Regions from separate parts of the Homo sapiens genome. Here regions 2, 3, 4, 5, 6 and 7 are each linked to region 1. Evidence: promoter capture Hi-C in 16 types of primary human blood cells and fetal thymus (Javierre and others, 2016). All regions are on one chromosome and are shown on one strand. Each heading gives the region's core, a stretch centred on a gene start or on the middle of the fragment in contact. The rest is flanking DNA. Distances are from core to core; before and after follow the strand shown. Region 1 holds the start of ACSS1 (acyl-CoA synthetase short chain family member 1). Region 2 holds the start of LINC01431 (long intergenic non-protein coding RNA 1431). Region 3 overlaps NAPB (NSF attachment protein beta). Region 4 overlaps NAPB (NSF attachment protein beta). Region 5 has its middle 31 kb from the start of CST5. Region 6 has its middle 15 kb from the start of GGTLC1. Region 7 has its middle 33 kb from the start of GGTLC1.

Region 1 (3,575 bases), core at 413-2,912:
AGTCTTGCTCTTCCCTTAGCCAGCTGCATGCTCTTTAGTAAGTCCTTTTATTTATTTGGGCTCAGTTTCCTCATTTTTTCCACCTGGAGTTTGACAGTTGGTGGGAATGGACAGCACTAGATAAGTTTCAAATTAAGTAGACTAGTCGGGTGCCGTGGCACACGCTTGTAGTTCCAGATACTCAGGAGGCCGAGTCAGGAGGATCGCTTGAGCTCAGGAGTTCCAGGCTGTAGTGAGCTGTGATGGGAACCATTGCACTCCAGCCTGGGCTACAGGCCCTATCTCTAAAAAAGTATCATAAATAAATAAAGGAGAAAATGCAGGTCAAGCGCTAGCACTGTGCAGGGCATGTGTTATGCTAGTAGATGTCACTGATTCTCCAGCTCTAGGTACACTCCTGTCTTCTCTGGCAGACAGCAGCATTCCCCAGCAGGGGCTGGTGGCTAGCCCACGCAGAGGCTCCTCCAATGGCAGGCTCCTCCCCTCTGCAAGCCCTACAGCTCAAGGGAAAGAAACTTTCCCATCACAGAGAACTCAATAAACCAGTTTTCCAAAATCTCTCTTCCCTGTGTTTACCCGTTTGTTATGAATTTACTTCTTGGGTGTCAGAATATTTAAGAACTCGGTGGAGACCAGTTTTATACGTTTCCTTCTGTCCTTCCTGGCTCCACAGCTGCAAAAACATCATCCCCACTACTGAGCTTACTATGGGGCCACGCAAGGGTAGACGCTTGACAGACATTGTCCAATGTATTCCTTACTGCAGCTGCCCACCCCCGCCGTCCCCGCCCCCCAGGGAGACATTACTTCCGTCTTCCCCAAAAGGAAAACGAGGCACCGAGAAGTTAAGGAACTTGCTCAAGGTCACAGAGTTTGAACTCAGGCTACAGATGCTGCAGCAACTGGAGAAAGTCCTCATCGCCCCATATCACCCACCACCGACCCCCAGCAGGACGTGACCCCCGCCAGGACGGAGGCCGGCAGCTGGGGGGCTGGAGCATGGGACCCAGAACACGGACTCAGGCTTGCGCAGCCTCCTGGCTTCTAGGCGGGAGCCTAGAAAGGCGCCAGCCCCTTTCGCGTGCTGCTGAGACTCCAGGGGTGGGGTTCACTCTCAGGGGCGCACAAAGGCATGAAAACCTTGGCTTCAGCCTCTGAGATGCGGAACTGACCGACCTATTGTCTTGGGACCCACCAGTGCGCTTGGGTGCACCAGCCCCCTTAACGTTGGTGCCGGCTCCCTCCCGGCTCCTCCCCATCCCAGAGGGTCCCCTCGCCCCAGGCCCTGAGCCTGCGTCCTGGGGTCCTGGGCCGCACGTGCCTCTGGCAGCTCGAAGAAGCTGTCGGGGCTTGCAGGAGAGCGTGCAAACTGAAACCAAAACAGGCCGACTCGAGGAACATCCGGGTGGGACCGCAGACTCACCGGAGCGCAGCGCCTGGGCCAGGGCCTGGGACCCTGCTCCGCCCCGCGCTCCCCTGCACCCCTTCCCCACGCTGCTCCCCTCTTCCTAAGCGGCCCCCCCTCTCCCGGGCAGCAGAAGAAGGGGTGGGACCCGGGCGGGCTCCGGGAGGGGGCCCTGGAGGAATGGATGGTGGCGGAAGGGCGGAGCAGGGGCGGGGCCCGCGGAGACTCCACGGGGCGCCCCGGGCGTGAGGCACCCACTCTGGGAGCACAGAGAGCTCAGGTAGCCTGCCTAGATGGCGGCGCGCACCCTGGGCCGCGGCGTCGGGAGGCTGCTGGGCAGCCTGCGAGGGCTCTCGGGGCAGCCCGCGCGGCCGCCGTGCGGGGTGAGCGCGCCGCGCAGGGCGGCCTCGGGACCCTCGGGCAGCGCTCCCGCAGTTGCAGCAGCAGCAGCACAGCCAGGCTCGTATCCCGCGCTGAGTGCACAGGCAGCCCGGGAGCCGGCCGCCTTCTGGGGGCCTCTGGCGCGGGACACTCTCGTGTGGGACACCCCCTACCACACCGTCTGGGACTGCGACTTCAGCACTGGCAAGATCGGCTGGTTCCTGGGAGGCCAGTTAAATGTCTCTGGTGAGTGGGCTTCGGGAGACCCAGGACGCCCCCAACTCTTGGGTCCCGAGGGGACTCGGAGCCTCTCGCCAGCGGCAGCCGTCCCCGGGCAGCGCGGATCGCAGCCCTGCAGGGGCCCCTCCTCCGGTATTCCGTCCGCCCCGCCCGCTCTAAGCAGTGGCTCCACGTCACCCCGTCCCTCATCCCATCGGGCCCCAGATCCACGTGCCCAGCTCGGGCCGGCGCCCGCGGGGACCCGGCGGCCGCTTGGGACGCCCCGCTGCTGGCCTTGCTCGGCGCGGCTCCTCGCTCGGCGGACTCCAGAGTTGCGTTACCGGGTGCATAGCGCCGCTGAGCAAGAGCCGGCGGGGAGCCGCGGGCTACACCCGAGCGCCCCGGAGTCGGGACTTTCCCGTTCCCATACCGGGGTGGAGGGAAAAACAAAGCGGTGGCGGTTGTCACTGCGGGCTGCGGTGCCCGGGGATCAGCCTGGGGACAAGCCCTGCCCACGTAAACAAACAGAGCTGTGGCGGGCGACCTGGGGAGGAGGAAACTCGGCGTGGCAGCTGGAACCAGTTATTTCTTCGCTGCGGGCCTGGGGCCTGGGGCCTGTGGACGGGAAGGAAGTAACGGCGGCCTCCCCGTTCTCGTTCTCGGCCTCAGAGAACTGCACCCCAGCGACCTGGGGCCTGCTTTGGACCCGCGGGGTCTGACGTCGGCCCCAAACAGTTGACTGGTGGTCAGTTGTTTGGAACTTGCTGAGCAGAGGCCCTGCTGCTCTGCTAAGATTTGGGGCTGGGGGTCGTACACAGCACCCTCGCCCCCACCTAAGGCGCTGACTGGGCACCGAGGGGGAGGCCCTGAACTGCAGGCAGGGCTGGCCACGCAGGGTGGGTGCCAAGTGCGAGGTGGGCTCCGGATGCAGGGTGGGCCTGGGTGTGGGGCCTGCGGGGAGGGGCTGGCAGACACGGTGTTGATCAGAGGGATGCAGACCAGAAGGGTGGTCATAACCAGCTTGCTGGATTTGGGAGTGTTTAAGAAAGGACCTGCGGGTCTTTATGGCAGGGTCACCAGGGCCCCATTTTCTCCAACTCCTCCCTCAGTTGTCCTTGTTGTTCTGCCCCCCCAGCCCTCAGTCTCCTCATTGTGAGGATGGGGGCAGTCATGCTCAGAGGTTAGGCTGAGTGCTGCAAGGTGTGCAGCAGACCCAGCGCTTACTGGTGACCCATAAGCAGTAGCGATTTTAGATAACTTCAGAAATAGTCATACAATTATAGATAGTGTCTTGCAGTTATTTTTCAAAGAAATTGGAAGGAACTTTGGACCTCCCCCACTCCCCGAAATTGTATATTACTTTGCTGGTTTAATTAAAATGAGTCACTTACTAGATAAGTGTTTTCTTTAACATTGAGTCAGCAGCAAGTGCCCTTGAACTAGTGGGAAAAAAACCAAACCCTTTGGTTTGCAGAGTTGGGGCAATGTGCCCTTGAAGGAGACTAGAGCAGCTTGCCCAAGGACAGAGGTGGAAAGTGACCTGCTCTGGACTTGTGAGGCCAAGGTCATG
Region 2 (3,575 bases), core at 642-3,141, 1.7 Mb after region 1:
CATGCCTTTAATCCCAGCTATTCAGGAGACTGAGGCAGGAGAATCGCTTGAACATGGGAGGCAGAGGTTGCAGTGAGCGGAGATTGCACCACTGCATTCCAGCCTGGGCAACAGAGGAAAACTCTGTCTCAAAAAAACAAAACCAAATTAGCCGGGAGTGGTGACAGGCACTTGTAATCCCAGATGCTCAGGAGGCTGAGGCAGGAGAATCACTTGAACCCAGGAGATGGAGGTTGCAGTGAGCTTCGATCATGCCATTGCACTCCAGCCTGGGCAATAGAATGAGACTCCGTCTCCGATTATGTTAGCTAGCATAACATAATGCTAGCTTATCCATTCAATACTGAAAGGATTGCTTTAGTTGAGTGTCTTAATAGCTTTAAAAATAGAGGTCATAAGACTCACAGACTCTTTGTGGCAATACTAAATGATAAAGAATGAAGGGCCATGCCTGGCAAGGGTTGTCATGCACCTCTACACTTCAAGAAGAAACTATGCCTTAACTGCCACAAGGTTTTTATTCTCTGGCAGCCAAACAAGCACTGGCCTCTAGATAAGCAATATTCAAACAATGTGCTTTTCATCCACCTCCACATGCTGACTGACACGCCCCCTGCCCCAGCCCCACCACTTCCACAAATAATTACTGCTTTGATTGGACCAGAGACTGACTGCAGTAACTTTTTCCTGATGGGAAACAACCGAACAGGGGCTGATTCTGGCGGTTTACAGAGGCTGCACACAAGTGCATCGGTGTCCTGAAAAGATCTTTCAACTTATAGGGTCTAAATGTAATACATGAATACCTGTAAATGCTAAGAGTCCACCCCAAAGTAAACATAGGTCACCTGTAACATGCACGTTTGTCCAGTAAGCATGGGTCAGGACCCGTTTCATGAATATTCATAGCTCTTCCTGTGGCCTGTTCATATGTGTACTTGGCTAAGTCCTTCAGCTTAAATTCCTGTCTTAGGCCCCCTTCCCTCCAGCTGCCTGCCTTTTGAGCTTCTGCCAGAAGCTATGCTTCCCAGCCTGTCAGAAGGGCCACCTTGCAGGTTATCACCGTTTAAAGAAATAAAGCTCTCCTTTCTATGTTTGTGATCTTTTTTTTAAATAATACAAATAGACAATTCACTTGACAGTGTGAATGGCATACTTCACTGACAATGGAATACTATAAAAACAATAATAAACCACTGATAAACATCAACCTGACAAAGTTAAATATAGTGTTTCATGCTGTAGAACTCTGCACGAGAAAAGTACACGGGAGTGAACAATTGTTACGTAAGGGCGTTCACTGCAGTGCACTTACATTAGTGAAACTTTGGAAACAATCTCACCTATAAGGAGATGGCCGAAGAATTTGATATATCCAAGCACTGGATTATTATGCCGGTCATTAAAACAATGTTTAAAAATATGTGTAATAGCTTGGGGAAATGCTCACCATGTTATAATGAGTAAAGACGGTACACTATTTTACATAGGGTCTGATGTGATTTGAAAACAAATCTATAGAAATAGACTGGAAAGAAATGTATCAAATTCTAAACTGCACAAGGAAGAACACTGACGCACGCGCAACGCCGGCGCCCTGCCCACTAGGCGCCCTCGCTGCCCCTCACCTGCACAGCCGGCGCACGCCCACAGGCTCGTGAGGGAGCGGCCGGTGGGTCAGGCTGGGCGGCACTCCTCGCCCATTGGCTGTCCCGGAGTCCGGCCCCGCCTCTCCCCGCCTTCTGGAGCCGCTGGTATAGCTCCTTCCAGGGCTCCTTGGAGACGGAGGGCGGGGCTAGGGCGCCGGAGTCACGTGGTCGCGCCACCGCGCGATTACTAGCTGTCAAAAGAGTCCTCAGAAGTGTCCTGAGCGGTCGCAGGGTAATGACGTCGGCCGTATCGGGGATGCTGGAACCTGCGGTTGAGTGAGAAACCGGCGCCACCGCCTGCGTCTTGGTCTCGGGCTGGTGGCCAGCGGGGTCTGGGCGTGGTTTTACCCAGCTCCTTTGCGAAGCTGCTGTCCTTTCCTCAACGTTACCACCCGGCTGGGCAGCCTACCCTCGGTCAGTACGTCCTGGCAAGAGCGCTTCGGGCGTGGCGTTCGTGTCGCGGGGGCCTCGGCTCAGAAGCGAGGGAAGAGCAGCCCTCAGAGGAGCGGCGACCGCGCTTACCGGGAGCCCGGGTTGGGAGAGGGCTCCCCAGGAGGGGTGTGAGCTCCGAACGAGAAAGAACGCCACCGCCTCGTGGGGTCTCTTCCTAATGTGCAGATTCCAAATCTCTACAATGCTGCAAAAGAGGTTACAGTCCACATCAAATTAAGCATGCCCTAAAGGGCAGCTGGGGTTCAGTTCAAGAGTTGAGTTTTAACACACACCTTTACCTGCCTTAAAATTGGGCAAGGTATCACAACGTTAAACCATTTCTCACAAGGCTCGTTGGTGATGTTTAAGATTTTTTGTTTGTTTGTTTGTTTTTTGTTACGGAGTCTCGCTCTGTCGCCCAGACTGGAATGCAGTGGCGCGATCTTGGCTGACTACAACCTCCGCCTCCTGGGTTCAAGCGATTGTCCTGCCTCAGCTTCCTGAGTAGCTGGGATTACAGGCGCCTGCCACCACGCCCAGCTAATTTTTCTATTTTTAGTAGAAACGGGGTTTCGCCTTGTTGGCCAGGCTGGTCTTAAGTTTTGCATCCTGGCTCCCTCCTCTTACCTAGTCCCAGCCTCTTGTCTACAGGACAAAGCAACTTTCTGCAGTTTTCTGTTTGCTCTTTAGAGAGACGGGGCCCTAATTTGGCAAAGTGGTAGGGGAGACAGGGCTGGTGTTTAAGGTCGACCAAAGCAACATCTAAATCTCTGCTCTTCCCCCAAATTGTCCAAATTAGCAGCAACAGGTGTGCACCTTCCAAGCTTGCAACAGACCACATTCAGAAGCTTGATTTCTTGTTGTTCTGGGAATATCTGGATCAGAGGTAACATGGTTCACTAGGACTCCTCAGCTTCACCCAGTGTCCATTTCACCTCCCCCGGCCTTCCAATGTCTCTTCTTGCAGATTTCTCCAAGCCACTCTCCCCGTCATCTCCTCCACCCCCAGGACCCAACTCCTGCCCCTCCCACCCTAGCCCCTGTTCTCCCTGCCCACCTCCTACCCCACTGGAGTGGCCTTTCATCAAACCTAAACCAAAGAAACCAACAGACCTTGCTGTCACCACTACTCCGGGACCTGGAAGTTAAAGCGAGGGAGAGACGGTGAAACACAGAAAGCAGAACGCCTTCTGTTCTTCCACAACACAGGGTTTGTGGACGTGGCCACTATAAGAACTCGCACTGCGTGCTGATTATACTCCTCAGCACAATTCATTTCTTAAACTTTTTAGAATAATTTAAAATTTACAAAAAGTTGCAAAAATAAAAACCAGTAAACTTTTCACCTTCATCTGCCTTATAATTAAGGCAGCGGGCAGCGCGCTGGACAGAACGGGAGGGGCTTGCGCTTTCCGCCGGTGGGAAACCCCACCCGCAGGGACGAGCCGGGACCATCTGGCCCTACCTGCCGAACGGCCGCTTGGTGGAGATGTG
Region 3 (3,575 bases), core at 802-3,301, 1.7 Mb after region 1:
AAGCTGATAGAATGTTGAAAGCTTTGTTTGTTTAGTAAGTCTGAAATTGATGAGTGGTTTTTCTCTCTCAGCTTGCTCTTGAGAAATATGAGGAAATGTTTCCAGCATTTACTGATTCAAGAGAATGTAAATTATTGAAAGTAAGTAATATTAGAACTTTGAAGAAAAATGCTTTTGTTCTGTTAGGTGACAACACCTAAGTGGGATTGGGTATGAAGTGAAGTTTTAATCTATAAAGTCTGCTAACTGAGGGGCCCTGGTACTTTCCTGCTTTCGTATTATAGGTGTTCAAATGCAATTAAGGTCAGAAACATGTAGTTGTGTTCTGAAATAGGCACCTGAGAAATGTTACTACAGAAGCTAGATCCCTAACTTGGCTCTTGACTTGTATATGAGTATTTCCTCAGTTTTGTGCAATATTTGGCAACATTGGTATTATACTTAAAGTATATATTTAGAAATGGGACTTCATCTTACAGAACTGTTTTTTAAAATATTTTTATGCTACCAGAAACTCCTAGAAGCTCATGAAGAACAGAACAGTGAAGCTTACACTGAAGCAGTAAGTTATGCTTTTGGGACATGGTACATTATTTGAAGATTTAAGTTAAAGAAACTTCTTTTCCTTTTCATTATGTGAATTCTAAACATTTATTTGAACATGACTCCAGCATACCTTAAGTTGTATTTTCCAAACGTCACCTTTTATATATCACACAAATTAAACAGTTCCATTAGCCATGCTGAGATTCGACTTACACTCAAAACTAATTTAGCTGTGAGACTAGTTCAGGAGCAAATATTCCATTTATATTCTTATAATTTGCTGTTTTAATTTTTTCTTTTGAAAATAATCTGACCCATAAATAAGTATAAAGTAAAATTAGTTAAGGCCAGGCACGGCGTCTCACACCTGTAATCCTGGCACTTTCGGAGGCCGAGGCAGGCAGATCATGAGTCAGGAAATTGAGACCATCCTCGCCAACATGGTGAAACCCCGTCTCTACTAAAAATATAAAAATTAGCCAGGCATGCTGGCACACGCCTGTAGTCCCAGCTACTCGGGAGGCTGAGGCAGGAGAATCGCTTGAACCCGGGAGGCAGAGGTTGCAGTGAGCTGAGATTGCACCACTGCACTCCAGCCTGGTGACAGAGCGAGACTCTGTCTCAAAAAAAAAAAGAAAAAAAAAATTAAATATAATTTAAAATATAAAAACTAAGTAGTGAGAATTTGCTGTATTTGTGGCATGAAATAAATGGAAGGTGGCCAGGCACGGTGGCTCACACCTATAATCCTAGCACTTTGGGAGGCCAAGGCGGGTGGATCACCTGAGATCAGGAGTTTGAGACCAGCTTGGCCAACATGGCAAAACACCATCTTTACTAAAAATACAAAAATTAGCCAGGCATGGTGGAGTGTGCCTGTAATACCAGCTACTCGGGAGGCTGAGGCAGGAGAATCTCTTGAACCCAGGAGGTGGAGGTTGCAGTGAGCCAAGATCACGCCATTGCATTCCAGCCTGGGCAACAAGAGTGAAACTCCATCTCAAAAATAAATAAATAAATAATAAATATATATATATATTAAAAATATGAGGGTTTTTTTCTTTATACTTTTTGTTTTTCCATCTTTTGCCATCTCATGTTTAGAATCAAGCAAAAAAAAATGTTTTTATATATTTTGAAACAGATCCTCACTCTGTCACTCAGGCTGGAGTGCTGTGGTGTGATCACGGCTCACTGCACCCTCAACCTCCTGGGTTCAGGTGATCCTCCCACCTGAGACTCCTAAGTACCTGGGACTACAGGTGCACACCACCACCCCCAGCTAATTTTTTTTTTTTTTTTTGCATTTTTTGTTGAGACAAGGTTTCACCATGTTGCCCAGGCTGGTCTCTTAACTCCTGGGCTTAAGCTATCCACCTGCCTTGGCCTCCCAGACTTCAAGGATTACAGGCATGAGCCACTACATCCAGCCTCAAGCAAATTTCTCAGTAGCCTCCTGTAACATGTTCATCACAGCTCAGGAGTGATAGAGGAAAGGAATGTTTTCCTGTCTGACTTTTGCCTACCACATCATTTTCATCCTATTGTAATTTTATTTTTGGGTAATGCATTGAAATGTGTTAATTCCGCTTCCATACATATTCTAACTCTGTAATTAATGTTTTCCCATGTTCAGTGAGTATTAATTTTCCATATTCCTTTCAAATTTTTATACAATATCCAGTTACTTTTGCCACAATAATTATGACTGTTAATGAATTTTTTTCTTACACGTTTGAAAACAGAGAAATGTCAAGCCCAGGAACTTGTCACTAGTATCAAAATAGTAACAGGATAATGAAAAAATAAACAATTTTTTAATGAAGAAAGTTATAAACTGGAATGATTAATTTCAAATGATGAAGAAAGTTAGTAGATTATGGCTGTAAAGGTATAAACAGCTTGGGGTACTATTATTTTGTGTTTTTAATGTATTTACATGGGGTAATTCCTGTTCCTCTTTCCTTATACTAGGTGAAGGAATTTGACTCAATATCTCGCTTGGATCAGTGGCTGACCACCATGTTGCTTCGCATCAAAAAGTCCATCCAAGGGGATGGAGAAGGAGATGGAGACCTAAAATGAAATGTTTTTGTCTTTGTGGCATGCAGCTAACTCCTCTTTAGTTTTGTCTTAGGGTCAAGTGATCTTTATGGGATGCCTATTTAATGGCTTAATTTTGTTGCATATGAGCCAGACGGCCTGTGTATTGTTTAAGCTCGCCAAGTCTGTGTTGCTGTGAAATGAATGAAGGAGAGGCTCCTGTTCATCTTGTGGTAATGATGGGTTGTTTCATGCTTATCAGAACCCCCAGCGTTTTCTGAGAAGTACTTCAGAATCTCATTCCTCATATTTCATTGGTATTTGTGGAGCCTATGTTTAATGTTGCCACGTGTTTTTATGTCCTTTTTGTTGGACTTGAGTACTCAGCCCAGTTGTTCTCATAGATGCTTTGCATTTTCTCTGTGCTTTGGCATCTGAATATGTTCTTTAAATGTGTGTTTAGTTTAGGACAGTTACTAGGAATGAGTTTATAACTTCATTAGAAATCATTTCTATTTTTGTTATCCTGTGATTATTTTGATGGTGCTAGTGACTAGTTTCTTTGCTTTTTGTGTTGTTCCGTATGCTAACATGTGCATGGCAAAAATTTAGAATAGCCAGGGTCTGTAGGCATCACATTGTGAGGAAGGGAGCTTTCTGGAAGTACTTGCTTCATGTATGGATGAGTGTCAAAGTGAATTTGATTTGTACTTAGACACACGCGTTTACACACACACACATATCACAAGATCTGTTAGAAATGGAATTTTTCTCTTTTTCTGGAGATAGTTTTCACTTTTAGTTGGAGTGGAAATCCCTTTATATTTACATTGAAGTATTTTAATTGGCATAGCCTGCTCATTATTTTCATGTTTATACACTTTCCCACGTTGAGGTGGTGTGTTCTGTGCTGTGACTATAGAAATCTTGGTCAGGGCTGGATAGATTATCTAAGTCAAGCTTGAGAATGAATGTATGTAATTTTC
Region 4 (3,575 bases), core at 624-3,123, 1.6 Mb after region 1:
GAGTTTAGTAATATTGTATAATTACTGAAGCCAGAAAACAGACGTAGTGTTCCTGTGTCAGTAGGACAATTAAGATTCTGTATCAATTTTAGATGTTTAGAATCCTACCTTATAGATGGCATGTATCATCACCTTTCTAGACTGGAATACATGTTATTCCACCCTGCCCCTGCCTTCTTAGCTATAGAATGTCACCATTTTCATTCCTAAAGGTCTGCATGTAATCCTTTATTTAAAACGCAGAGTAATCCATCTCTATGTCAGACTCCAGAATTAATGTAATACAAAATTAATAAAACACACATACTGACTTGAATATCATCAGAGCTCATATATTTAAGAGCTGACTAGCTGGTGCTTTAAAGAGGATAAGCCATCTGTTTTCAGGTTGTGGCAGTCATTAAAAGCTGCTTGGCATATTGCAGATATTTCACATCACAGACATTCTGAATGCTCTATCTGCAGATTAAAGCCTGTCATGAGTTCTCTAGTGTTTACCACTCACAGTGGTTTTGTGGCAATACTGTATTCTTAGTAGTATTCTATAGCTTTTGTTTCTTGCTTTCAGTAAAATTAGATGAAAATATGCATATGTATTTATGAGAACATGTCAGTCAAATATTTCTTCTCTGTGTAAGGCACAAATCCTCTGCCTTATCTGCTTGATAGGTAAGGTATCAATATTCCTTTCCCATCCCCACCTTCCTCCCCAGGAAAAGAGCTGACAAGGGATGCAAACATTGCAGGAAACCACTGTTGTGGTGGTTTGTGTTTCTGCTTAATTGCCCGTTAAGCAGTAATGTGCTTTTGTAGTTGTGGAATTAAAACTTTTTCTCAAGTTTGTAGTATAGTACGTTTAGTAAAACTACTTCCAAAGGAGTTGTCTTGTCCTTTAGTTTGTTGCCAGGGATGAGCTATGGAATTTTGTAGTTAATTTCAAATTCCAGTTTATAATGTTAATGAACTACTGGTATGATTTTAAATCGGCCTGAGTCTGACATTAAGATAGTTTTGAATTGGAAAAGCCTCTTATAATACTATCCCCTCCATCTTGTTGCTATGAGACCCGGTTGGGAATAACCTGCACAATGCACATAGAAGAAAGTGCTTAAGACTGACAGTGGAGGCCAGGTGCAGTGGCTCACGCCTGTAATCCCAGCACTCTGGGAGGCCGAGGCGGGTGGATCACTTGAGGTCAGGAGTTTGAGACCAGCCTAGCCAACATGATGAAACCCCGTCTCTACTAAAAATACAAAAATTAGCCTGGCGTGGTGGCGGGCGCCTGTAATACCAGCTACTTGGTAGGCTGAGGCAGGAGAATCACTTGAACCTTGGAGGTGGAGGTTGTAGTGAGCTGAGATTGTGCCACTGCACTCCAGCCTGGGCCCCCGAGCGAGACTCCGTCTCAAAAAAAAAAAAAAAAAAGAATGCCAGTGGAAAGATGTTCTTTATGGTTAATGCTGTCTTCCTTTGCCTTTCAGTGTTTAGTCTGAGTTTACACAAGAGCTACAAATTTGGCAATGTCAATGTAAATTTAATGAAAGGCCCCATTGGGTTATCTTGAAATAATTATGAATCTATAATTTGTTGGTTGTTTGTGAAAATTGTGAATATTTCTTAAGCATTGTAGACTGTAAATTATCAGTATTCTTCACTTGTGTTTATTTCAACAAAGATTGCTTTTAAGTTTGGCCAAAATATGGTGGGGCCATGTGATAACATAGGTGAAGCATTTAGGTTTTCCTCAGTTACAATTCTTGTTCAAATGCAGATTGAACTTTTAAAAAAATTATTAGGCTCAGGTTTACTGACAGAGACAGGTGATACAGTATAAGAAATATATACGTATATTTGTGTATCTTTCTCAAAAGAAATCGATTATAAATTGAACAATTATTTTTATAAATTATATAATATACGTAAGAAATATAATTATATTATTATTCATGGGGAGACCAGGTAGAGGCTCAAGTTCTCTCATTTACTATTTTGGTGACTATAGTCAAGTAAATCATACTCAGAACTTGTTTTTTTTAGTTTTCAGATGGGCAGAGAGACAGAATCTGTTTTTCACGATTGTTAAGGATTGAATGAGGTCAGAATGCTTATTCAGTTGCACAGAGCTATATAACTTTATTATAATTGTTTGGTTTTCTGATTTTAGGTTGTTACAGCTTGGTATCAAATGATAAACTGTTACCAGACTGGCCTTTTTCTTGTTGCATTTTTGCAGTTTTCTCCACATATTCTTTCATTCTTGTGAGCTCTGTGAGGTGCAGTTACTCTGGAGAGAGGGAGGGCCAGTAATCATATGTGGCTCCTTGGAAGTCTGCCTGTTTTGTTGCTGTGGCTAACACCTCACCCAGCCTGAGGCATGCGTTAGGCACGTGGTAAATATTGGTGGAGAGAATGAATGTATTAATGCTAATACAAATGCTGATGTTTTTTCTTTTATTCTTACCTAGTTTTCAAGAGCAAAGCTATACCAAGTAAAGGAGAGTTTAAGTCGCTTTCTTCCGTTTTATTTATGTATTTATTTTTTTGAGACGAGCTCTCACTCTGTTGCCTAGGCTGGAAGGCAGTGGCGAGATATCTGCTCACTTCAACCTTGACCTCCTGAGCTCAAGAGATCCTCCCACCTCAGCCTCCCAAGTAGCTAGGACTACAGGCATGCACTACCATGCCTGACTAATTTTGTATTTTTTGTAGAGACAGGGTCTTGCTATGTTGCCCAGGCTTGTCTCCAACTCCGGGACTCAAGCGATCTGCTCTGCTGACCTCAGCCTCCCAAAGTGCTGCGATTACAGGTGTTAGCCACTGTACTAGGCATTTTATTTAAATATTTGCTTATTATGAACATTGTAGCTGTACACGGTAGAAAAGTACAAGGAGTACAGAGAGTTTTCTTTTTTTTTGAAATGGAGTCTTGCTCTGTTGCCCAGGCTGGAGTGCAGTGGCATGATCTTGGCTCACTGCAACCTCTGCCTCCTGGGTTCAAGTGATTCTGCTGCCTCAGTCTCCTGAGTAGCTTGGATTACAGATGGGTGCCACCACACCCAGCTAATTTTTGTATTTTTAGTAGAGACAGGGTTTCACCATGTTGGCCAGGCTGGTCTTGAACTTCTGACCTCATGATCCGTCCACCTCGGCCTCCCAAAGTGCTGGAATTACAGGCATGAGCCACCGTGCCCAGCGCAGAGAGTTTTCAGTTGAAAAGTAAAGTTCTCTGAGTCTTCTTTTTACGTAATCTCACTCCCAAGAAGCAACCATTTTTAACTTTCTCATTAGTTTTTCTGATGGTTACCACCATATTTCTAAATAATTTTAGAGCACTTCTACTTCCTGATATCTTGATTTTCAGACAGTATCTGTTGATTTTGCTAAAAATGATGAAAAATTTATTATAACTTACATGGTCTTACATTTTCCCCTTTACCTCCTCATTTTACTTAGTTATGTCTCAATCTCTATTACCTTTTATATATAAACAGCATATTTAAATCTTAATTCATGTATGAATTAATGCTGAATAATTAAGCTAATCAAAATATTATACTTAAAATTTTTTTAATATA
Region 5 (3,575 bases), core at 479-2,978, 1.1 Mb after region 1:
CCACCCTCCTCTCACCCCCTGTGACCTCCTCCTGCTTCTACTCCTCACCTTTCAGGGTGTAGTTTGGGACAGGATGCCTTGGGCTATGGAGTCCACCTTTCACTTATGAGCCATGTGCTCAAGAACAAGAGCCAAAGGAACAATGGAGAAGATGGAAGGAAACCACCTGGGCCCCTGCTGAGGACACTGCAGCAACTCTGTGAACACCATCCCACGACCTTTGGTAAATGACTGCCGTCATCATGGGAGAGGCAGCCAGTGTTTCTCAGGACTCCTGCTATCTGCAGCCAGGACGCTCCCAGGAACAACGGAGCTCACACACCACTAAGTGTCCATCCCAGAGCCCGCGTTTCAAATAAGGCTTATTGTGCGACAGGAACAAAATTTAACTGAAAATTGTATGACTTGGCACCTTGTCCTCAACCTCCCTCCTACTTATTTCTTCAAAAATGCAAGGAGTTATGTTACCTGCTCAGCCTTCCTCATCAGATGTATAAAGAAAATTAGGAGAGTGAAATTATTTCACAAGAAATTAGGTGAGTAAAAATATTTCACAAAGTTCAATACAGATAGAAGCTTTAGTTTTCATTTCACTAAGATTGGAGGAAGGATTAAAAATGTTCCAGTTGAATAAGAGATTTTTGAAAAAAGGTGAATTTCCAGTGAGGCTGGAAAGAAAATTGGAAATCCAATTTTTTTTTTTTTTTTTTTTTTTGAGCAGGTCTCAGGTCTGAGAACATTTGGAACATCCTACCTCTCAAATCCTGAGAAGGGGAGATATCCAGTCTTCCAGACAGGAATTGTCTCATCCTCAAAACGTTCACAGACCTAACACCCACTGTAGTTAAAAAGGCAGGATATTCTGTGCTGTGGGTCTTGACTCCACAAGCTCTTGGTTAGGGTTCCTGGAAACAGACTCAGATGGAGATTCATAGGCAAGAGGCTCACTGAGGCATGTGCTGGGAGGCAGGGATGTGGGTCGGGGCAGAGGGAGAAGTCAGGCAGGGGTGCAGCTCAGCAGAGGCCACAGCCAGGCCCATGGAGAGCTCTGTAATGGGGATGGCCTCAGAGTGGTAACATATCGGGGCAAAAAAATCAGGCCTTTGTATCCCCATAGAAGCCATTTATTTGAAATAGGAAATTCCTGGCTAATTTTTTTTGTATTTTTAGTAGAGATGGGGTTTCACCATGTTAGCCAGGATGGTCTCGATCTCCTGATCTTGTGATCTGCCCACCTCGGCCTCCTAAAGTGCTGGGATTACAGGCATGAGCCACTGTGCCTGGCCCCTATTTTTTCTCCTGTTCTAAGTTAATATTATAACATATTAGGTTGGTGCAACACATTAAATAATAAAAACTTTTTGGGAGTGGCAAGATGGCCAACTAGAAGCAGCTAGTGTGCATGGCTCTCATGGGCAGAAACAGAAGGGGTGAATAAATATAACATCTTCAACTGAAACATCCAAGTACTCACTGGGATTAATCAAGGAAACAACTTGACCCACAGAAAACTAAAAAAAGCAAGACAAGAGAACAGCCCACCTGGAAGCAATACAGAACCAGGGGATCCCCACCCACCCAGGGAAGGGGTGAGTGCATGATTGACATCAGGAAACCATGCTTCCTCCATATGTCTTAGCAACCCTCATGTCAGGTGATCTCCTTGTAAACCCACTCCACCAGGACCTTCAGTCTTCAGTCTGCCAGAGAAAGCTGTGTGGAGTTTCAGCAGAGCAGCCACTCAGGCATGTGTGGAGACCCTGGAGTCTTAGATACTTGGGCTTTCCAGCAAAAATAGCTGCAGCTCCAGCAAAGTGGGATAGACTACTCTGTGTAACCGTAAAAATGGTTTGAATCCAGGGGGCTGAGCAGCAAAAGCCCATGGTCCCCACTTCCATGGCACCTCACAAGACAAGACCCACTGTCTTGAAAGTCCAACCAGCTACTAGTAGCAGCATTGCACCTCCCTAAGAAGGAGCTCCCGGGAGAAGGGGCAGGCTGCCAGCTTTGCTATTTGGCCACCTTAGCTGTTCCAGCCTTCAGACTTTGGAAAGTCTGAGCCGACCTGGAAAGAAGGGATCCCTCAGCACAGCCCAGCTGCTCTATTAAAATGTGGCCAGTCTGCTGCTTTAAGCAGGTGCCTGATCCTGTTTCTCTTCACTGGGCAGGACTTCCCAACTAGAGCCTCCACCCGGTTCCACCTGAGATCTCCAGCCAATACAGATCCGAATTCCCCCTGGGATGGTGCTCCCAGAGGGAGGAGTGTGCTGCCATCTTTGCTGTTTGGGTGACTTAGCCATTCCAGCCTTTGGGCTTTGAAGTGTCTCAGGTGGCCCAGGGGCTGAAGTGGACCCCAGAATAGCACAGCTATTCTGCCAAAACATGGTCAGACTGCTTTTTTAAGTGGGTCCCAATCCCATTTCTTCTTACTGGGTAGGACCTCCCAACTGGGGTCTCCAGCCACTTTCTACAGGTGCCTTTGGGCTGGCAATAGGTCCATACTTCCCTGAGACAAAACTCCCAGAGGGAGGGAAATGCTGCCATCTTTGCTGTTTTGTAGCCTTCGCTGGTGACATCTCCAGGTTCTGGAAAATCCAGGTGACTAGGGACTGGAGTGGGCCCAAGCATACCACAGCAGCCCTACAGAAAAGTGGCCAGATTGTTATGTGGGTGTCCATTCCCATATCTCCTCACCAGGCAGGTCCTCCAGGCCTGGGCCTCCAGCCATGCCCCACCAGAGCTATTAAGCCAGCAGCAACTCAGCAATTCCATGTACAGAGCCTCCAGGGGCAACTGAAAGTCTCTCTGCCGCTGCCCTTGCCACCTTTGCACTAATGAATAAGCAAATACCCTAAGTGCCTTAACCTCCAACAAGCTTCAGTAGACCCAAGGAGAGGAGGTCAGTCTGTCTTCCAGGGATCCCACACACTCCTCATAGTTCGTCATTGGACAGGGAACCTTGGCTTGGGCCCACAGCACAACCCTTCATCTTAGACTGATTGCATGGAGCAATTGGTGACCTGCATCTCTCTGGGATGGAGCCCCCAGGAGTCAAGCAAAATGACTCTTGGCCACAACCACTACGAAGATCCCTTCCACTGCTGCCTCTAAACTGGGGAAAAAACATAACACTGGGATCACCACAGAGCTGCAGTGGGCAGCCTGGGGTGCCAAGTCATGAACTATAGCCAGCACTCAAGGGCGAGAGAAACTCACACTTTCAGAGCACTGAGAGGGAACACAGCTGCAACTGTGAGAAAACACAGGGAGCTACACAACAGAGCAAGAGGCTACCAACTGACCCATAAGCCTAAGTGTCACCTACTGGATCACACCCCAAAGCTTCAACATCAAAAATACCTCACTAATATACCCACATCTGAAACCAGAGACAAGAAGTCAACTTTAAATAAAGACCCTACACAAAGACTCAATCTGGTGAAAACATTGATTTAAACAAAGTCTATTGACTGTACTCAATCTACACTGCAGTTAAAGGGACACCCACACATGAAGATGAGAAAGAACCAATCCAAGAACTCCAGTAACTCAAATGGCCAGAGTGTCATATATTC
Region 6 (3,575 bases), core at 481-2,980, 1.1 Mb after region 1:
AGTAGCTTAGTTTTGGTTTGGTGACATGGAACTTTAGCATGAGTGACTTCATTTTGCTTTGGTCTGCTGGGGCTGGTAAAGGGGTCTACTTCCAGGGGAGAGTATTTTTAAGGCTACGTAGCATCAGGGCCACAGGAGGCTCTTGTTGACAGAAATGACTGCAATATAACCAGGTCTGCTTGAGCCCTAAGTAGGCACAGCTGATGGATGTCCTCTACCTTTCTTATGTGTCAGCCTCTTAGAACATCCCTGTGGGGTTAGATGTTTCTGTAAGCCACCCAAAGGATAACTGACAAGCTTATCTGTCCCGAGGGGAGGGATGAATAGACGGTAGTATGACATTGTGATTTATGATAAGAAATATATATTTGGTTTTTGTCCTGCTCCCTGGCACACAGCTCCTAAAAAGCTTGGAGTCTCCAAAGTGACAAGTGTCTGTTTCTATGCGAATGTGGTGATTGACCCCGGACCGCCTCAGGAGGGGGCCTGGTTGTCAAGGGGACGGATGGCATACTTAGAGGGCCAAAGGGCCTGCTCAGGCGAGGCGGTATTCCTCGGGATTCTTTTCTGCAGTGGATAAGGAGATAACAGGGAGGAGAAGGAAAGCAACTGTTCTCCTTGGGGGTCGGTCTTTATGCAGATAAGGGAAAACTCTCTTGGCCTCTGTTGATCTCTAAGGATTTTCAATTCAAAATACTCACTATACTAGGGAGCCATATTTTTGGGTGAAGTTCCCTGGGTTCCTTCAGTGCTATAGGTGAGGAAATGTAATTTCTTTTCTTTCCCTTATAGATTCTTAGTTTAGACTTGCTTGAAAACAAAAGTCAGATTAACAAGAGAAAACCCAGCAGGAGTTTATTAACACTTGCTGTACCCATCACCTGGGAAAGGCTTCAGTTCAAAATTATTTCTCTCTCAAGGCAGTGGCTTAGGGGCCAATACTTAAAAAGTATTGGCCGGGTGCAGTGGCTCACGCCTGTAATCCCAGCATTTTGGGAGGCCGAGGCGGACAGATCACTTGAGGTCAGGAGTTCAAGACCAGCCTAGCCAACATAGTGAAACCCTGTCTCTACTAAAAACAGAAAAATTAGCCAGGCGTGGTGGCAGGCATCTGTAATCCCAGCTACTCAGGAGGCTGAGGCAGGAGAACCGCTTGAACCTGGGAGGCAGAGGTTGCAGTGAGCCGGGATTGTGCCACTACACTCCAGCCTTGGCAACAGAGACTCCACTTAAAAAAAAATTATTTTAACAAAGAGCCATAAATCCTATTTAGTGACAAGACAAAGAAAAGAGCATCTTCAGGCTTAAAAAAAGTGAGATACATGGGAAAGTAATTGTGGGAAGAGTAAAGCCAGCTCCTAGATTCTCTGGCGTGGCTGTCTCTGAGCTTATAAGCAAGTGTTGGAAAGGGGCCTGTCTTTAGGTGGGAATGACAGAGAGGAAGGAAGAATACCTTGGTTTTGTAAATTGCTGTCCTGCTACCTGGCAAGCAGAGGCAGGGCGGAGTCTCCCTGCATCTGAATCTTCTTAAGCTCCATAATCCTCAGTAGGTAGGGGAGAATATTTTGGTTTCTTTCAGTGCATTAAGCTAATATATGTCACCTGAAATCTGCACCCTGACAGAGCAAAAGGCTTGGCATCCCACGGGACAGTAGCATATCCTCTTAGGGGCCACACTTTTGTAATATGAGTATGTCCAAAGCGAAGTTACAGACTGTTTTTCTCACACTTGCTTCCACTGTGAGACCCACCGGGATAATCATTCTGGCCTCTCATCACATACACTTAATTTTCGAGTGTGACTTTTCTTCTACTGGTTCTTTTTTGTTTACCATTTTGAAGGTCTGTTATTCACATATTGGGTATCCTGGATTTGTTCTTCAGGTCTCTTTATATTGCCTTGTGGCTTTTGTGTCTCTGTGTGTGTGCATGTGTGTGCGTGTGTGTGCACGTGTGAGTGTGCGTGGGTGTGCGTCTGTGTGCATACGTGTGCGTGTATGTGTGTGTGCGTGTGTGCATATGTGTTTGCACATGCGTGTGTGGGTGTGTGTACGTGTGCATGTGTATGTATGTGTGAGTGTGCTTGTGTGCATGTGTATGCATGTGTGTGTGCATGTGTGTACATGTGTGTGTGCGTGTGTGCATGTGTGTGAATGTGTGTGTGCGTGGATGTGTGTCAGTGTGCATGTGTGTGTGCATGTGTGTGTGAGTGTGCGTGTGTGCATGTGTGTGAGTGTGCATGTGTGTGCGTGTGTTCACAGGATTGCAGAATGTCTACCTGGTCCCCCACATCTGTATATCAGTTATCCGCTGTGACCATCTCTCACTTCATCTGTTAAACATTTTCATTTAATTGAAAAATCCATTCTTCTGTCTATAGATCCTGAGAGTATTTTGTGTTCTAGCTACGTCTCCTAGGGCTTGTCATTTGTGGTTTTTGTTAAGTTCTCATGTAGCTCTCTCACCAGTTCAGGGGGAGCTGAGTGTTACATTACTTGCTTTGGACTTCCTTGCTCTGCACGTACTCAAGGGCTCCGGAGGAGCTGAAACTTTTCTTTGCCTGCTCCTCCTGGTGTGTCCTCTCCTCATCCAGACCCATCAGGCTTTTAGGGCGTCTGGGGCAGGATGACTTCAACAGCAAGGGAAGATGTATGACTCCTGCTCCCTGAGGATGTGCAGGGAGTGGGCTGGCAAATCATCACCTTCATTTTGGAACATGGAAAGGACGTTTTTCTGCTTCAAAATGCCAAACACAGTCTTCACCCAACCAGAGAAGCTGCACACAATCCAACCCAACATCAATTTTCTCTTTCTCCAGGGTCATCAAGACCAGAAAGCTCGAACTGCACCTGCACACTGCAGCTCTTTCCTGGAGAGACTCATAGACTTCGGCTGGTCAAGCCACACTGGGGTATAAATAACCTTCACAGCCCCCAGAATAGCTGTGTCTTTCAATTACATGCATGACTCCCCAAGAACCATGCCCTCAGGTGTTCATACCCTCAGGTGGTTCGCCCTGCTCAAGTCTGGGATGATCTTGTAAAAGCTTTACCCAATTAAATACGGAGGAAGTGATGCTGTACCCGTTCTAGGCTTAAGCTTAAAAAAGAGCCAGCAGCTTCCGCTTTTCTGCTTTGGGAAACCCCAAGGCTCAGGTACCATGATGGACAGACCCCTTGGAGAGAGCAAGACTGTGCAACTAGTGGAGAGAAAGACAGAGGCTGTTGCAGCATCCCAGCTGAGCCCAGCCCAGATGACCTGTCAGCTTGACCAGTGTGAGATCAGGAGAACTGCCCAGCTGACCCAGCCCAGACTGCAGAATCATAAGCAAATCAAATGGCCATTGCTTGAAGTCACTAAGTGGGTGTGCTTTGCTACACAGCAATATATAAGCCTTAAGTTCTCCCGCAGCCCCACAGGCTCTCCTGTCTGTCAAGGACAAAGCCTCACACTTACTCTCTCTCTCCAAGAAATCCCATAGGACATGGAAGTCAAGAATCAGCTTCAAATCAGTCTTTCCAGAAGTTTTCATCATTTACTAGGATACAGATTATGGAATTTATTCTCTGTTAATA
Region 7 (3,575 bases), core at 479-2,978, 1.0 Mb after region 1:
TGGTCCCCTTGTCTCCTTCTTGCTCTCAGTCTTGCTTCTTCCTGGGAGTATCAGTCTTCAGGCCCCATTTTCCTGTGGCCTCAATATTTCTCCAGGGGACCAAGCAGGTGAGCTGGGCACCTTTGCTGGTGGAATTGGCCTGTGCTGAGACAGGTGAGAAGAAAGGAAGAAGAGGACACCTAGGCCCCCGCCTGGTAATATCATGAGCGGTTCCTCTCCTGAGGAGCAGCTTCTGTTGGGATCATTATCTAAGCAATTAGGGGTTTCCACTCAATTTGCAGGCTCGCTGATTGTTATGCATGTCTCAAAGCATCAGGCAGTAGAGGAACTAATCAGCACTTAATTGCTGAAAATAAAATCCAGAGAATAAGGAAGAAAACACAAAGAAAAACAATTCTCTCATTATTTCAACTTTTCTGCACCACTCCCAATTACACAGTAAATCACCTCTTTTCATAGCTGCTGTCATGACATCTGTGTGGGCCTTGGGGTCACTTAATTTCAAGCTGCCTTTAAAACCAGGTCCTCTGAGGAACAGATATTTGTTTTATGCTGATGCAATTAAAGAAGCTAATTTCAATTTTGAAGCACACAAGATGTATGCAAGTTAATAGCTTTTCGGCTTTTGGCCTCCAAGCAGAATGAAAAGCTTGTTGTTCAGCTTTAATAACCTGTGGGACAAATCTGAGTGTTCATATAAATTGGAAACCTTGCTCTTAACTATTTTTTTCATACAATTGCTTCCTGATACAAGGATCCTTATCTTAAATCCTGTAAATCTTCAAAAGTCTTTTGTTTCTTGTGCATCTGGCTGTGCCATTTATTTGGGGTGTCATAAAGGGAAAATGAAGTAGAAACAGGCACCTCCCAGGACAGCCTTGCAAGCTGGAACTCAGAGCACTTGGGGCACTGTGGCTGTGATGACCCACCTCAAGGTTGTTCTCCTCCATGCCTGCCCCATGTCCTTTGCCTTCCTTGTTCAGAGTACACATTCATGCAAGTGACAGATATCAGCTTTCCTCTACATCATGTTAGTTCAGTTGCTTGCAATTTGCAAGTGGCCCTGCTTCTCTAGTAGGGATCCTGCAATCTCCCTTCATGTATTTTTATGTGCAGCATAAAACTGCACAGGAGAAAAACTGGAATGAACTTATTGGGAGCAGGAAACACATTCATTAAGAACCCACGGTTTTTAGGGATATGCACCTTGCACAGTGGGGCACATGAAGCATAATAAATATTAACTGAAAGTTTGGTTTAGGCTCATTCCCCCAGAAGCAGACCTTGAGGAAAGGATCCAGAGCAGGAATTGGTTTGAGTGGCGATTTGGAGGGAGCAGTGGTGGGGAGCACTGTGGAATACCTCTCTTCCCCTCAAGGGAGAACTTGCCCAGCTGCAAGGAAGGCGGGTTTCTGCAGCCTTCACTGGCTGCCACCAGGATCTGCCCCTGCTTTCCTACTCAGACAAACTCTTTGCAGGCCATCCCTGCCACGGCCTGCACTTGGCTGGTGCTGCAGCCCAACTCAGTGCACCCAGCATTGGACGCCTCTAATGGGCAATCTCTGGGTTGGCGGAGCCTTCCTCAGTCAGCACCACAGTCCAAGGCTCCCCCTGCCCAACACTGGCCCTGCACTTGGTGTCAGGTTTTCTTCCCCAACTGTATTAGCGTTTTCTAGAGGGACAGAACTAATAGGATATATATCTATATATATTTTTATGTATATATACACACACACACACACACATATATATATACACATATACATACACACATATACACACACACATATACACACACACACACATATAAACTCCCCTTTATATATATAAAAAGGTCTGGTCACGCTTCTGGTCTTGTGGTCATAGCTGGTATTGATGACTACATTCTTCTACCCATTCTGTATTCCCTTTGCCTTTAGCAAGTGCCTCAGCAGGTTGTGTGTGTGTGTTTTTTTTTTCCTTGTGGAGTAAGCCAAACCTTCATTCCTAAAGAGTCTGGGCAATTTGTAGTCCTACCTGGATTGGGCTGTTGTAGTTTCCCACTGTGAGATCTGAGAAGAGCAATTACAGGGCTCTTCAGAGATGCAGGTGCTGCCCTCACAAATCTATTTTGCAAGGCATTGGTCAAAGGTATATCTTCTGGATGCTCCCAGTTGGAATAAGTAGATCTAAAGTGACTAATCCACTCCACCATCCCAATCTCCCAATGCCTTTGAATCCCTTCCTTTACATTAAACCAAGGGAGATCAGGCATTTCCAGCTCGCTCATAGTAGGCCATCTTTTCATCCATATTTCAGCTAACCAAACAAATAAACTATTAGAACCCTTTTTAACTCCCCAAGCTGCAATATTAAATGCAGAGTCCCTACTTCGTGGGCCCAAAGCAATAAATTCAGCTTGATCCAACTCTATGTTCCTTCCACCATTATCCTACACCCTTAATATCTATTTCCATGCCTGTTCTCCAGATTTCTGCTTATATAAATTAGAAAGCTCAAGCAGTTCTTTTCGAGTGTACTGCAACTCCTCATGGGTCACACTCTCAACCTTATGTCTAGGGGCCCGCTGGGACTTTAGTCTAGTTATAGGTCTCGAAGAAAACAGGGGTGTTGGGGGTGGCTCCTCAGGAGAATCAACATTATCTTGCCTGGCAACTGCCTTGAGGCCATCATCACTGTTGCCTCAGGCAGCACAGGGTTTAACTCCTCAGACAAAGGTGGAAAGGCTGATGGCAGCATGGGTCGGGGAGGGGATGTTGCCACTACTGGGGATAGGGAAGCTGTTTCTTCTGGCAAAAAAAGCTTCATCAGAGTTTACAAACTCAGTGTCCCCAGTGTCATCAGGGTCCTCCCACACATCCCCATTCCAAGTTGCACGGTCCCATTCTCTTCCTATCAATGCCCTCACTTTAACAGCAGACACCTGGGGAAGCTCTGCATGCACCTTTCGTTGCAGGTCAGCCACTCGCATTGTAAGAGCTTATGTCTGTTTTTCCACAATTTTAGTTATTTCTCTACAGGAGATAAGACCCTCACTCAGGGCAGTCTTACCAGATTTGAGCCTCAGTATCTGCTTCTGAAGCTGGGAGTTAGAATCCCGGAGTTCATCATTTTCTTTTGTCACTTTTTCCACCAAACTTAGGAGCAACCAACCAGCTTCATTATGTTCCTTGGTTCTCCACATATAGTCAAAGGTATTATGTATAGAGTCACCAAACTCCTTGCCTCTTGTGAGTGGTGAATTAGGAGTGTCAGATGCATTTATTTTGCGTAACTCTCTAAACAGTTCACACCAAGGACTATCAGTGTTCTCCATACTATTAGAAGTAGAGTCCTTATCATTTTTGGATCTAATTATATTAAGCAGCCAACTCCAGAAACCCAAAACCAATGAAAAAACTCCATTCTTAATATTCTGTTTCTCTAGAACCACTCCTGGTACCAAAGTCTGTAATAGTTATGGTTCTCTAGAGGGACAGAACTATATATATAAAGGGGAGTTTATTAAGTATTAACTCACACAATCACAAGGTCCCACAATAGGCCATCTATAAGCTGAGGAGCAAGGAGAGCCA

What was found. The method cuts DNA at HindIII sites, captures the fragments that hold promoters and counts their contacts. A CHiCAGO score of 5 or more calls a contact.
Region 2: the fragment with the promoter of LINC01431 here is called in contact with the fragment with the promoter of ACSS1 in region 1 in 14 of 17 cell types (total B cells, naive B cells, total CD4 T cells and 11 more); the score reaches 45.2 in total B cells.
Region 3: a fragment that was not itself captured here is called in contact with the fragment with the promoter of ACSS1 in region 1 in 1 of 17 cell types (total B cells); the score reaches 6.7 in total B cells.
Region 4: a fragment that was not itself captured here is called in contact with the fragment with the promoter of ACSS1 in region 1 in 1 of 17 cell types (total B cells); the score reaches 7.4 in total B cells.
Region 5: a contact is called between a fragment that was not itself captured here and the fragment with the promoter of ACSS1 in region 1, in 6 of 17 cell types (naive CD8 T cells, total CD8 T cells, non-activated CD4 T cells and 3 more). The highest score is 7.8, in naive CD8 T cells.
Region 6: a fragment that was not itself captured here is called in contact with the fragment with the promoter of ACSS1 in region 1 in 1 of 17 cell types (naive CD4 T cells); the score reaches 6.2 in naive CD4 T cells.
Region 7: a contact is called between a fragment that was not itself captured here and the fragment with the promoter of ACSS1 in region 1, in 2 of 17 cell types (naive CD4 T cells and non-activated CD4 T cells). The highest score is 5.3, in naive CD4 T cells.

What each region holds. Positions count from the first base shown.
Region 1 is chr20:25,056,226-25,059,800 of GRCh38, reverse strand. ACSS1 (acyl-CoA synthetase short chain family member 1) reads left to right here and starts at 1,662. Exons shown (of 14, transcript NM_032501.4): 1 at 1,662-2,032. The coding sequence starts at 1,699. RefSeq lists enhancers at 1,181-1,786, 2,437-2,566 and silencers at 1,407-1,936, 2,067-2,336. The HindIII fragment of the contact is 7,356 bases long and covers 1-3,575 here.
Region 2 is chr20:23,356,443-23,360,017 of GRCh38, reverse strand. LINC01431 (long intergenic non-protein coding RNA 1431) reads left to right here and starts at 1,891. Exons shown (of 3, transcript NR_109884.1): 1 at 1,891-2,063; 2 at 2,881-2,967; 3 at 3,049-3,424. RefSeq lists a silencer at 1,556-1,745 and enhancers at 1,796-2,185, 2,376-2,465. The HindIII fragment of the contact is 4,137 bases long and covers 1-2,907 here.
Region 3 is chr20:23,376,432-23,380,006 of GRCh38, reverse strand. NAPB (NSF attachment protein beta) reads left to right here. Exons shown (of 11, transcript NM_022080.3): 9 at 72-140; 10 at 512-562; 11 at 2,521-3,575. The coding sequence ends at 2,631. Among named protein-coding and RNA genes, the nearest start is that of GZF1, 16 kb to the right of the region's middle. The HindIII fragment of the contact is 3,001 bases long and covers 551-3,551 here.
Region 4 is chr20:23,414,934-23,418,508 of GRCh38, reverse strand. All of the region lies in intron 1 of NAPB (NSF attachment protein beta), which reads left to right. Among named protein-coding and RNA genes, the nearest start is that of NAPB, 4.8 kb to the left of the region's middle. The HindIII fragment of the contact is 3,803 bases long and covers 1-3,575 here.
Region 5 is chr20:23,908,840-23,912,414 of GRCh38, reverse strand. No RefSeq gene overlaps it. Among named protein-coding and RNA genes, the nearest start is that of CST5, 31 kb to the right of the region's middle. The HindIII fragment of the contact is 2,299 bases long and covers 579-2,877 here.
Region 6 is chr20:24,001,619-24,005,193 of GRCh38, reverse strand. No RefSeq gene overlaps it. Among named protein-coding and RNA genes, the nearest start is that of GGTLC1, 15 kb to the right of the region's middle. The HindIII fragment of the contact is 2,637 bases long and covers 412-3,048 here.
Region 7 is chr20:24,019,698-24,023,272 of GRCh38, reverse strand. No RefSeq gene overlaps it. Among named protein-coding and RNA genes, the nearest start is that of GGTLC1, 33 kb to the right of the region's middle. The HindIII fragment of the contact is 2,153 bases long and covers 652-2,804 here.